Linked DNA regions of Homo sapiens: region 1 is linked to region 2. The links are contacts of gene promoters, found by promoter capture Hi-C in blood cells and fetal thymus (Javierre and others, 2016). All regions are on one chromosome and are shown on one strand. Each heading gives the region's core, a stretch centred on a gene start or on the middle of the fragment in contact. The rest is flanking DNA. Distances are from core to core; before and after follow the strand shown.

Region 1 (6,226 bases), core at 1,118-3,617, 130 kb before region 2:
ACTAACACTTTCCCTTTTCTCTCCTTTCATGGAAGTTTCTTAAACATCCATTATGTTCTTCACACCCTTTTTCTCAGCCTCTCTAATCTCTTGGGCAAATGTGCATTCGCACATTTTCACGGTGCATTATTTTGCCCACTAAATATGCATTAAATACAAAACGCTGTCATTGGAAGCAGCACGGCAGGCCTGCGGGATTCTCAGCCTCAGTCTCTGGGCCCTACTGGGACCTGTCATGTTGGACTGGCCTGTTTGGCAAGCACTTGACAATTCTAAGAGCTTGGGTAGGGTCTTTTAAATGTCTCTTCTGGATTTCTGTTAGGGGATTTGTTCTTCAAACTGTCAAACCCTAAAAAGACTGAAAGTAGCAATCAACAAGAAAATGTGCAGAGAAGTAACTTGCAGCCTATGATTTATAAACACAGAGATGCTGATCATTATCACATCCTTGTCTAGTTAAATCAAGCCCAACCAAGGATCCAAGTTTTCCTGGAGGAGTAAATACAGGACAGAATACAGGCTGAACATCCTTAGTCTGAACATTTAAAATCCGAAATGCTCCAAAATCTGAAATTTTTTGAGCACTGATATGACACCACAAGTGGAAAATTCCACACCTGACCTCAGGTAACAGGGATTAAAACATATATGATGGGGCCAGGCACAATGGCTCATGTCTGTAATCCCAGCACTTTGGGAGGCCGAGGTGGGTGGATCACTTGAGGCCAGGAGTTCAAGACCAGCCTGGCCAACATGGCAAAATCCCATCTCTACTAAAAATACAAAAAGTAGCCAGGCGTGGTGGCATGCTCTTGTGGCCCCAGCTACTCGGGAGGCTGAGGCATGAGAATCGCTTGAACCTGGGAGGCGGAGGTTGCAATGGACCAAGATCGCACCACTGCACTCCAGCCTGGGTGACAGAGTGAGATGCCATCTCTAAACAAACAAACAAACCACCCCACCCACCCACCAACCAAAAACCAAACAAAAAACACATATTATGGGCTTATTGAAGGACTAGGGCAGTACGCATTCATAACAGAATAAAAAATCATGTCAGTTTATGAACTTAGAAAATAATTCTAAGATAAAACTTGTTAATGAGGCAGATGACTCTGGAGGAAATGTTTTAAAAAGCCATCCAGCAGAATGCCTCCTCTTCCCTAGAATGATTTGTTTTTATCCTTATAATAATCCTATGAGGTAGCACTTCGGAAAGCTCCTTTTCACAAATGAGGAGATGAGCAATGCAAAAAGAAGTAACCTGTCCAGGGTCATACAGCCGAGATTTAAACTCAGCCTAGCTGACTGTGGAGTTTATGCTCTCAACCTCAATTTATATTGGCTTTTCAGGTTAAAAGTCCACTCAACCACTGAAAAAGGTAAAAAAGACACAAGGTGCTCTAGTGAGAGGCTCAACTAAAAGAAGTTGTCTAGTCAAGCCCTAATATTAAGCCTTCTTGGATTCTCTAATGCAGGGTCTGGAAAGCTTTTGTGTAAAGGGCAAAACAGTAAACATTTCAGTCTTTGCAGGGCATGCGGTCTGTCATGACTACCTAACTCTGCCCTTGTAGCATGAAAGCAGCCATACAATACCTAAATGAGTGGACATGGAGGTGTTTCAGTAACGCTTTATTTACCATACCAGGCTGTGGGACAAATCTGGCCATAGCTTGCTGACCCTTGCTGTAATGCATTATCATAAACTCTAGTAGCACAGCATTCGTCTATACTTAGGTAAGAACAGGTCCTCCAACAGGAGAATCGGTGGGTGAATGTGGAGAATACTATACAATAAATATTTGGAACTGTTTCAAATTTTTGTCTTGGAAAAAAATGGGGGAGAAAATGATTTCTTCAGTATTTTCTGTTATTTCTATTAAAATGGGGGTAGAATGAAACAGCCCAGAGTAAACAACCCATCAAGCCAGCACTTTTCACTGATGAAAATTATGGCTGCTGGCTAGACTATATGCATTTATATTTAATATTTAGTCTCATCTACATAAATTCACATACTTGGGCAGACTGGGACTCTATACTGGGATTGCTAAGTCTGTCTATTCAGAATACAGAGAAGAAAAGGGAATAAAATACTGGCAGAACAGTCAGAAAAAATAATCAGCAAGAAACAAATCTACTATCTCGTTAATCCTGAAAGACAGTGGTTTTTAATTCTCTTTCTTGGGTCACGGTGCTGATCACTGTGACAGGACAGCATGGTTCAACCCCAGACACTCATTTCTAGTAATTAGTCCAAGTACTGATAACCCATTTCAAAGCTTGTGTATAGTAACGTGCTGGGTCAAATCCGTATGGGGATGTATATTTAAAGACAAAAACAAAAAGAGTTCCAAATATCGAATCCTCTGTTTCAAGTTATTTAAGATGCATGCTTTTCGGGATAGAAGAGTTACATGTGCCTTTGAGGTTTTCTTCCAGAGAAGCTTTATTTATTGAAACAAATTAAGCATAATTTCTGCTTTGCCAAACACAAAAACAACAAAAAACAAAGACAAACAACCAACCCTCTTAGCGTACACACTGTTTTGAATCAGAAAACAAAATCCAAAATATTATTGCTATAATGTGTTGCAGTCATGTTCTACATCAACTAACAGATGTTGCCTATGCAAAAAGCAAAACAACAACAAAAGCTTCAGAGTGCTCCATGTAGACATTATTTCTTGCATATTAGCAAAATTAAAACACATGGGCTCTAACCTGTTCCCAGCCTCTCCAGGGGATTCTGCCTGAGGAGTAAGGTAATCAGATCCTGGGCATCAGGTGGGGGTGCCTCATCCTTCTCAGGCCAGTTGATCTCATCTAGAAGGAAGAAAAGTTGTTTATAACCATATTGTTCACAAGAGGGTCCAGGTCCCAGCAACATGGACATCACCTGGGAATTTGTCAGAAAGGCAGAATTTCAGGCCCACTCCGGACCTACTAAATCAGAGTCTGCCTTTCAACAAGATCTTCAGTCGATTCCTAAACACAGTCATGTTTGAGAAGCATTATTTTACAAGACATAAGTAGCATAGATTTTTTACAAGGTAGGAAGAGAATATTTCAATAAGCAGATCTTTAATTTGCTTTTTAAATGTATTTTTCTTTCAAAGAATTGGCTTCCAAAAAGTTGCCTCTCTAGTTATTAAAAGACTTAAAATAATAGAAACTCTAAACACTTCCATTTCAGGTGGCTAATATATCCATCCAGGGATTATCTCAGGTTCAGATTTTTCTCTCTTAATTTCCTCAACTGAGAATTTGGCCACAGCCATAGAGTTCTTCAGCTCTAAGAAGCAAGAAGTAATTTTGTAAAAATAACTATTTCCAGAAACAAACAAACAAACAAACAAACAAACAGGTCAAAGTGCTAAGACTGAAGAAGAAAAAAAAACCCAAAGTAATCATAGTAATGGAAGTATTTAAAATCTGTCATAAATATTAAGAATACTTTCTCATTCTGAAGGAGTTTGCCTGAAGATAGGTGTGCGTGCTTGTGTGTACGGAAATGCAATAAAAACATGAGTTATTTCTGTGTGTGCCTGCCTCTAGCTTCCTCTGCTGCAGTTTAAATCTGATTTGGAAAATAAAACATGAATATGCATCTGAGCCGTAAGGCATCAAGAACAAAGCCAGCATTTGCTGCTTGTGTTAATTAAACAGTTGATTCCCTTTGCCATTCAGGCCTTAGTATATCAGAAAACAGCCTAGTTATAAATCCATAAACAGCTCAGATATTGTATAAAGGGGTCATACACTGCAGGCAACTCACAAATCTGCTTTGTTAAAGTTTACAAATATGCAAGGCTTGCAAAATCAAAGATAGAAAAGAATGCCGTGATAAAGGGGCCCCTCATATGCAAAATGAATTTTTCCCCTACTTCCACTGCTGGACCTTGTAAACACAGTCCAAATAGACCGTACGTGGCTGATAAAGATGTCAGTGATGCCTGACAAACTTTCAAGATGAGAGGCCTTTCTGATGTATGTTCCAGGGAAATTTATAAAATCGGCAGGTAGGGTAGTGATACACCCTATTTAATTATCATTTAGTTTTGCCACAGGCCACATACAATAGTTAGGGTCAGCTTGCAGGTTAAGATCTAAAAGTTATTGAATTTTAAATGAAAGATGAACAGCTGTTACAGAAATAACATTACGCCATAACAACTACCAATGAAATCATTAACAATCTGTGGATTCAACTTGCTTCTTTCCCATTCTCATTATTTATTATTTGGTAGACATTTGTTTTAGGGTTTATTACATTTTTGTTAACTTCTTCATTATGCCATTAGCCATTTTCCCTATTTATGTAAATGTTACCCACATTAACCTTTTCTTCCCTGGTGTAACTTTCCTATCATGGAAAGGAAGACTGGACGGCAATTAAATTGCCTGTAAATCCCACACCAATTTCCTTTGCAGAAAAAGCACACTATAAAAAATGGTTTTGTTGCTAGTACATTTCCAAATTCTATGTTAACAACATTTCTTCAGATCAATTTTCAACAAAAATTGCTCTCTTGAGATTAAGAATGTCAGTTATATGCTTTGATGAGTGAGTTCTTTTGTTGGCTCAACTGTTTGATAAAGGTTAACATTTTAGTAGTAAAAACTGTGACACTCAACAGATTTACATTAAATAGCTGCTTCCCAACAGTGACCTAAAGATAACTCCTGATGATATTTACCACTGATGACTTGTCCAAATAGCTCCTCTGGAGTATCCCCAAAGAATGGCACGCATCCAACCAGAAATTCATAGAGGATAATCCCCATGGCCCACCAGTCCACCGGCTTTCCATAACCCTGCCTCAGAATCACTTCTGGTGCAATGTATTCAGGTGTGCCACAGACCTAAAAGATAATTGCAATATTAGAATAATTGGAATATTAGACATGAATTAAAATGAGCAAGATGGCTAGTCACCAATTATTTTGCCCAGAATGCACCTGCTCAACCACATGGAACCACATGGACAAAGAACTTAAGAGCACCAATTATAAAAAGATATTTAAAATACCAACGAAAAGAATTATTACCAAAGACGGGAAGTTTACAGTTCTGCTCTAATGTTAAATTATATGTAATGTTTACTTTCAAATTGAGAATCTGACCCTGTTTGGTAGTTTTACCTATTATACAATATTAAAACCACTTATAATCCTTAAATTTAAAATAATAATGCATTTTTAAGTTTGTCATTGTCAGAGAGAGTTTTAGTATCTATATGACCAAAATATATTCACACACAGGTCATTTCATAAAAGCAATGACAGTTGAGATGTGTTTACCTTAAGTAACTTTACAATGAACAGATTGTGGGGACATGGTAATGAGGCATGCTTAAAGGGAAATGGGCCGTGGCTTGGATTTAGCACCCGTGATGGTACAATGCATCATGAGTTTCACAAGTACTCTACTGAGACTCCTGAATTCCTTACAAAAACAGTATTCCATTTGTCTCTCTCACACTCTCACTTGTGTGCAATTAGATCATTCGTCTTGCTAATAGACCATAATGTTGGGGGAGGAATGTAGAGGGAGCAGACAATTCAAAGAGGCCCAGGGAGAAAAATGGGAGCAATTTGCACTTTATTAAATGTAAGGTTTATACAGACATCTAAACCACCAGCACTAATGTGAAGATGGCCCACACAAGTTGATTCTGAACTTCACTGGCAATACCATACTTTGTATTTCTCAATAAACTAAATGGCACCCAAGCTTACCTGTTTATCCAGGAACTCTCTAGCATCCTTCTCAATATGACCCTCGTAAAGGTTGGTAGTCATGCTCATTAGTCCCACCTTAGATAATCCAAAATCTGTCAGCTTTATGTGCCCCATGGAGGTAACCAACAAGCTATGAGGCAGACGGACATGTAACACAATAATCACTTTATAAGCTGGTTATCTATTTTCATTTCCTCCCTTCCCCCCTCAGTTTCTAAGACTATTTAATATATGGGCATCAAGCTTATTACAAAACCCAGCCTGGAAAGAGATGGAGTCACATAAAGATGTCAAATACTTCCATCTAGCAGCTGAGTGTAATTCACAAGGGAGGGCTAGAGACAAGGTGTAGCTAATCTTTGTTGGAGCAGCCACATACAATATCATTTATAACACTTTGAAACTCTTAGAAAAATTCAAGTATGAAACTCTGATCCCTTTCCATTTTCACAATAAGAAAATAAAAAAAAAAGGGCATACA
Region 2 (6,264 bases), core at 67-2,566:
TGAAGGGCTCAACGAAAAGTACCAGAAGCCTCAATGACTGGGTGAATGAAATGGATAAACATGATCAGGTCAAAGGGACAGACTTAGACAAAGTATCTCCTCCTCTTTCCCTTTTTCTCCCCCACCTCTCACAAGGAAATGTCTTATTATCCACATTTCAAAAGGAGAAAACCTATGAGAAGCACATTTATCAGGGTTACCCAGGAAACCACAAGGACGAAGAAATACCTGAAACAGTACCCCCTCCCCTAGCGGGGCATAAACTTTTCAAAGTGTCACCCAATACACAAAACCCCAGCTCCTGAGGGGCTCAGGCAGCTCCGCCTGTGGGCCCCTGGGAAGTGAAAGCATTCCCTCTCCAGGCAGAGATCCCCGCGTTTTTACCTTTGTGTTCGCCGAAGCCTGTTCCCACTCCTCAAATGAGGCAAAGTAAAGTTTGAGAGCACAGTCCAAAAATTGGGGTCAGACATATCCATTTCTTTCTCTCTTCAATTCACTGTGGGTTCAAGGCCATATGACTAAAATGGGGAGAGGTAAAAAAAAGGAAGAAAGACAAGGCCAAAAATAAAAAAAAAATCCCAATTATCTACTCACTCCCTCCAGAGAAAATGTGATGGGAACTGTGATCTCAAGAACAACTTGGAGCATGTCTGAGAAGTACCCGTCCCGTCCTAGCCTTTAATTAACACACAGCCTCCTCTCAAAGGTCCGGGAAACTGATTTCCTCTCGGGTCTGCCCTCTCCTAGTCAGGCTCGGCCAGCTATAAACAGTAATTACATGAGTTGAGCCGTGCGTTCTGCTCAAAGCGCTGTCTGTGGGATTCAGTCGGAGGTACTTTGTCATCTGTTTGGCAGATACCACTCGCCGCTTCTGCGAGGGGCGGGGGAGACGACTATTTTGAGGCTTTGGTTCCGGAGGCTGTTGCTTATCAGCAAAACCATTCACATCCGAACATGCCCAGTGCCGAGTTTCCTTTTGGTATCTACATACAAGGAAAAGAATTTGAATAGAAAAAGCTGCTCTTGCCCTCCCCTCCTGAAAAAAGCGGAAACTTAAAAGCACTTTTAAAAAATGGGCCTATTGGAGGACTTGAACCTGACACCTTTGTGGACCCTTCCAGGGTCCGGCTGGGAGGAGGCGGCAGGGCCTTGTCCCTGGACAGCTTGGTGGCCGCGCCCCCAGCTTTCCTGCATCCCCCACCCCCCACCAGCCCCGGCCGCGCCTGAGGAGCGGGGGCTCACGGGAAAGGGAGCAGGCGGCCGCGGCGCGACCCCAGCCGGTGCCGGGACAGCCCCGCAGCCTGGGCCGCCGCTCCCCCTCCCCGGAGCCCGGAATGGATCCGTCCCGGAAATAAATAAATAAACCCGCGGCTGCTCCGGGTGTGTGCTGCGCGCACCTGAGGCCGACCTGTGATTCACCGCGGGAGGGATGGCAGTGACAACGCTCCGGGGAAGTCCACAGTGACTCCTCCGCCAGGACGCCGCTGGTTGTATAGGAAAAGCACGCGGACGGGAAGCCACACTCACCGAAAACCTCAGTAAACTAAATTTATGAGTTTACATCTGTTCCATCAATGACCACGGTGCACACCTGTTTGGCTTCATGGCCGGCAACTACAGATCTAGGTAATGGTGAGCCCCGATGTGGAAAGACACTACCTGGCATTTATGTGGCAAATGCTACAAGTATTGCCCCTTCAAGTACGTTAGACCTTGAAAGGGCAGAATGAAGGGGGCTGAATGTTCTTGTTATTCATTTTGAAGAAAGGCATGGTATTTAAATATCTCCCCCTATCCATGAATGTTTGTATAAAGTACATAAAGAAAAAATATAATTTAAATTAGCTGCCTTAAGTCTGGTGTAATATGGCAAGAAATACTAAATCAAAAAAGTATATATTCAGCAAAAAATACATCTAAAAATGGCTTAGTCCATGCAGTAAATACCAGGAACAAACTCGCTTACAAAAATGGGAGGATAAAGAGAAGGAAGAGGGGGTGTAAGCTGACAAGGTAGGCGGGGTAAACAAAAAGAAGCCTGCTGTGGGATCTTCTTTATCTAATTCTTGTGGCCCACATTAATATTTTCACACCAAGGACTCCAAGAGTTTTGGATGATGTTTCATGTCCAAGGCTTTCGTATGCGTTATCTCCTCACATTCTTACAGAGCCTCCACAGATCCTTGCAACCCACAGAGGTAGACAAAGAAGGCATTATTTTCTCAATTTTACATTTGGGACTTTATCCCAAACATTCAGGGACACTAAATGACAAAACACACTTCAATAGATATTAATGAGCTTGGTCCAGCATTTTTGCCCCATGCTCTTCTTTTAAAAAATGTTTCTAAGTATTGCAAAAGATGTTTTGAAGGCTGACACAAAAGAGTGTCCCTGTGCTCCGGAGCAGTTTCTAGACCTCAGCACTGTTGACATAGGCTGGATAATTCTTTGTCTGAGGAGCTTTCTTGAGCATTGGAGGATGTTTAGCAACATTGCTGACCTCGACCTACTAGATGCCAGTGCTGACAATTAAAAATGTCTGAGGACATTGCCAAATGTCCCTTGGGAGGTAAAATCACCCCTGGTTGGGAACCACTGCTCCAGATAAAGGCTTCTCTGAGAGGGGTGATACAGAGCACTGGTTTAGAGCAAAAATTTTGGGTCTGAATTCTGGATACAACACTTACTATGACCTTAAATCTCTTCTCATTTTCCCCAGCTGCAATATGGGGTCCATAATAGGACCAACCTGTAAGAGGCTGATATACATAAATGAAGAGGAGATGGCATACATAAGCCCTTTCACGCAATGTCTACACACACACTGCGCATAAATGTAGGCAGTATACAGAAGCTAAGAGAATACTATGCTGACAGACATAAGACTGGAGCAGAGGACACCCCACAATGTGCTTCTTTCTACTCTCTAGAGTCTTCAACCAGGCTGCTGATCACACTGTGTATAATTGACTGTTTACTGCTGTCTTTCCAATTAGTCTGAGTTCCTCAAGGCTAAAGTCACATTTTACTGATCTTCATATTTTCAGAACCTGACAGCTCCTCAGTTTATATAGGCATTTAATATTAGTAAATCCTTTTTGAATGGATACTTCAGAAGCCCAAGTATCTCTTATTTCTCTTAAGATGCACTGAAACTATTAGTACTAGTAGATCTGTATTCTCAAAGAATACTGAATTTTTGAGAATCCCATGAAGACGGTAAATTCTGAAGACTTTCTCTTAGTGACTTATTTGTATCTATATCATGTAGCTGGAAAGATATCAGTGCTAACATTCCTCAGGTCTTTACATGGCTCTAAGAAATGTCACAATCAAACTCAAGGGGAATTCCCTTTGAGTCCCATGTCCCCTCCTCAAAGGCAAGCCCAGAGAATAACTTTTTGTGCTCACTTGTAGGTATCCAAGATCAAGAGGGACAATTACATATTATAAGCCGCACAGAGAAGAGTAATCAAGGTGGACATGAACTTGTGCTATATAAGTTATGGGTTGAAGAACTCTGTGGAAAGTAGAGAAGAAAAAATTTAGGGAACAAGCAGTAGTTGAATACAGCTATGTGAAACTATGAGAACTATGTGAAAGAGTGTTTGGATCCAAAGATGAAAGAGCTGACACAAGAGTGGATTTTCTGAGAGCTGTTTGAGCAGAGAAAACTTGAAGGAGATACAGTGAGTAGAACACAACCTGTAGGTGGTTTGAAGACCTGAGGACTCCAATACCTCCCAACTCTCATATTCTCTATAGTTTTTCTAGAAAAGCCCATGTATTGGGGCATAACCTATAAAGATGATAGCAACTAAAATGGATAAATCAATGACATAAAATGTTTATTTCTTCTCTTGATTAAATGACAGATACCCCAATCTGCAGGCATCATATGTTATGACTGCCTCCACTCTCTGCATTTTGAGAAAGCCTCTACAGAAATTCTCAAAGGAATGGGTAAAGACATGAGTATTTTTAACTACATATACTTTAAATTTATTTTTTTTTTTTGCATTTAAAAGGCTTGAGAGGATTTGGGTTGTATCCAAACTGAAAAAATAAAAATAGGTTAAGTACATGAGGAACCAGAATGAATTAATATAGTGAGCGAAAGTGGATTGTACATTCCCACACTCATGAAGATAAGAGTACAGATGACACTGAAGTGTGAGTTGTCTTCTAACCTGTTTGACTTGATTTGGTTACATATGATTCAGAAGGCAGAGCAGTCGGTAAACACAAGAATTAAAATTGTCAAAACTACTGACATTTTCCTACAAAATAATTATATGGGCAGAAACTATAGTTGCGACTGCAGTAAAACTCAACTGCAGAACAAAGAGGGAACTGAGATTACTGGAAATTCTTAAGACTATAGCTGGTCTAGGTCAATATAGAGATATTCAGCAGGATTTTCTATTGTGTAACAACTAAGCCTATACAACAATGGACAAGCTTTGTGGTTCAGAACTTTCATTCATTTAATCAGGATGACATTGTTAGCCATTGGTTTTGTAAGGTAAATGAAACTAAAAAACAAGCTTGTCATCCTACTGAAATGCAAGCTTAGGAAGAAATAAGTATTTAAGAAAGGGTCAAATCCTTCACTATTACCTCCCCTTCTACATACAAAAAATGCCAGGTCCTTTTTACTGACTTGAATTCTGTCTACTGCCCACCTGTTGACACAAGCCACCCCCCCCCTTTTTTTTTAGACAGAGTTTCACTCTTGTCGCCCAGGCTGGAGTGCAGTGGCGCGATCTTGGCTTACTGCAACCTCTGCCTCTCAGGTTCAAGCGATTCTCCTGCCTCAGCCTCCCAAGTAGCTGGGATTACAGGCAGTCGCCACCACACCCAACTAATTTTTTTGTATTTTTAGTAGGGACGGGGTTTCACCATGTTAGGCAGGCTGGTCTCGAACTCCTGACTGCAGGTAATCCACCCGCCTCAGCCTCCCAAAGTGCTTACAGGCGTGAGCCACCACAGCCGGCAACACATGCCCTTTAAGAAGGGGTTTTCTCCAGTCCACGTAGAACAATGTTAAAAGATAATATGCCTGGAGTCTTGTCTTGAACTTAGATTCTATGAAAAGACTTAGTTTTCTAGTGTGGATGTGAAGTCTGCAAAGCTGTCAGCTCCCTGTGCAGGACACTCGGGCCATGAGGCCATGCCCAATAAGACACTAAGTTGAGATTTCCTAAGCACTCTACCTGATCCTGGCCTATTCTAAGGATTTTGCCCTAAACTAACTTTGACATCTTCCCATCCCCATTTTCAGGGCACCTAGAAGTGACTAGTTCCCTAGGGCTGTCCACACCTTCAAGTCCACTTTGGTCACCTTCTAAATGTGGTCTTGAGAGTTTGAGGCTAGAACTGTGAACAGCAAACTGGCTGTCCTGAATGAGCAATCCTTGTAATCATTTTGTACATCCCAAGAAATAAAGTTTAATACTGGGACAGAAATGGGAAGAAAGTTACATCAATGAGGAACAGGTTGAAGAAAGCGTTTCTAATATTATTAAACAAATTTGCACTCACAATGCTAAAATATGGAGAAAGATAAAAAGATAGACAACAATTAACTTGTAGGGATAGGCCTGAATGCTGAAAACTAAGACAGATAATAGGCAAGGTTGTATCATCCTGGAAAATACCAAAAAATATTTTAAAATAATGCCACAAGGTAAGAGAGGTTCAGATTTTTAAAGTGAATGAGTAAAATGAAAGAAACATTATCCTGGAAGCAAAAAAGGAAAAGGAAAAAAAAAACCCAAAACAAAGGAAACAAAATAAGAATTCTATTTCCTGATGGGTTGAGCAAAGAACTACACAATCTCCGAAGGTAGTGTAAAGGATACAGTCTGAAGCAAGTAAAGGACATGCTAAAGACTGGCCAGAATGGGAAGAGAATGCAAGGTCTTTCTCAGGCATTCTCTGGATCCCAGGAGAATCAGAGACACGGAAAAGATTAGCAGATAACCTATAAGCTAACAAAATATAAGAGAAGACAGTGCATAGATATGGGAAATGAAGCACTTATCTCCCAAGGCAGTGAGTGACTCCTTGATATGTATGATTGATAATTAGAGTAGAATACATATATGGCACACAGCCCATAGGACTGGAGAAGGTGCAGAATCATGTCTTGCAAGCACACTCCAGCACTCTACCTTCTGACTTTCAAGCAGGGGAAGTTCCTGGGAGAAGCCCCATAGCTTAGTCCCAACAGAGTTCCACCCCGTGGGAGAACAGCTG

What was found. The method cuts DNA at HindIII sites, captures the fragments that hold promoters and counts their contacts. A CHiCAGO score of 5 or more calls a contact.
Region 1: a contact is called between a fragment that was not itself captured here and the fragment with the promoter of MAST4-AS1 in region 2, in 3 of 17 cell types (megakaryocytes, endothelial precursors and activated CD4 T cells). The highest score is 6.8, in megakaryocytes.

The regions. Positions count from the first base shown.
Region 1 is chr5:67,133,163-67,139,388 of GRCh38, reverse strand. It overlaps MAST4 (microtubule associated serine/threonine kinase family member 4), which reads right to left. Exons shown (of 29, transcript NM_001164664.2): 17 at 5,743-5,875; 18 at 4,701-4,866; 19 at 2,725-2,826. Among named protein-coding and RNA genes, the nearest start is that of CD180, 61 kb to the left of the region's middle. The HindIII fragment of the contact is 165 bases long and covers 2,285-2,449 here.
Region 2 is chr5:66,999,206-67,005,469 of GRCh38, reverse strand. It overlaps MAST4-AS1 (MAST4 antisense RNA 1), which reads left to right and starts at 1,316. Exons shown (of 2, transcript NR_111908.1): 1 at 1,316-1,626; 2 at 3,421-3,852. The region is part of intron 4 of MAST4 (microtubule associated serine/threonine kinase family member 4); the gene reads right to left. RefSeq lists a silencer at 1,099-1,438. The HindIII fragment of the contact is 7,419 bases long and covers 1-4,466 here.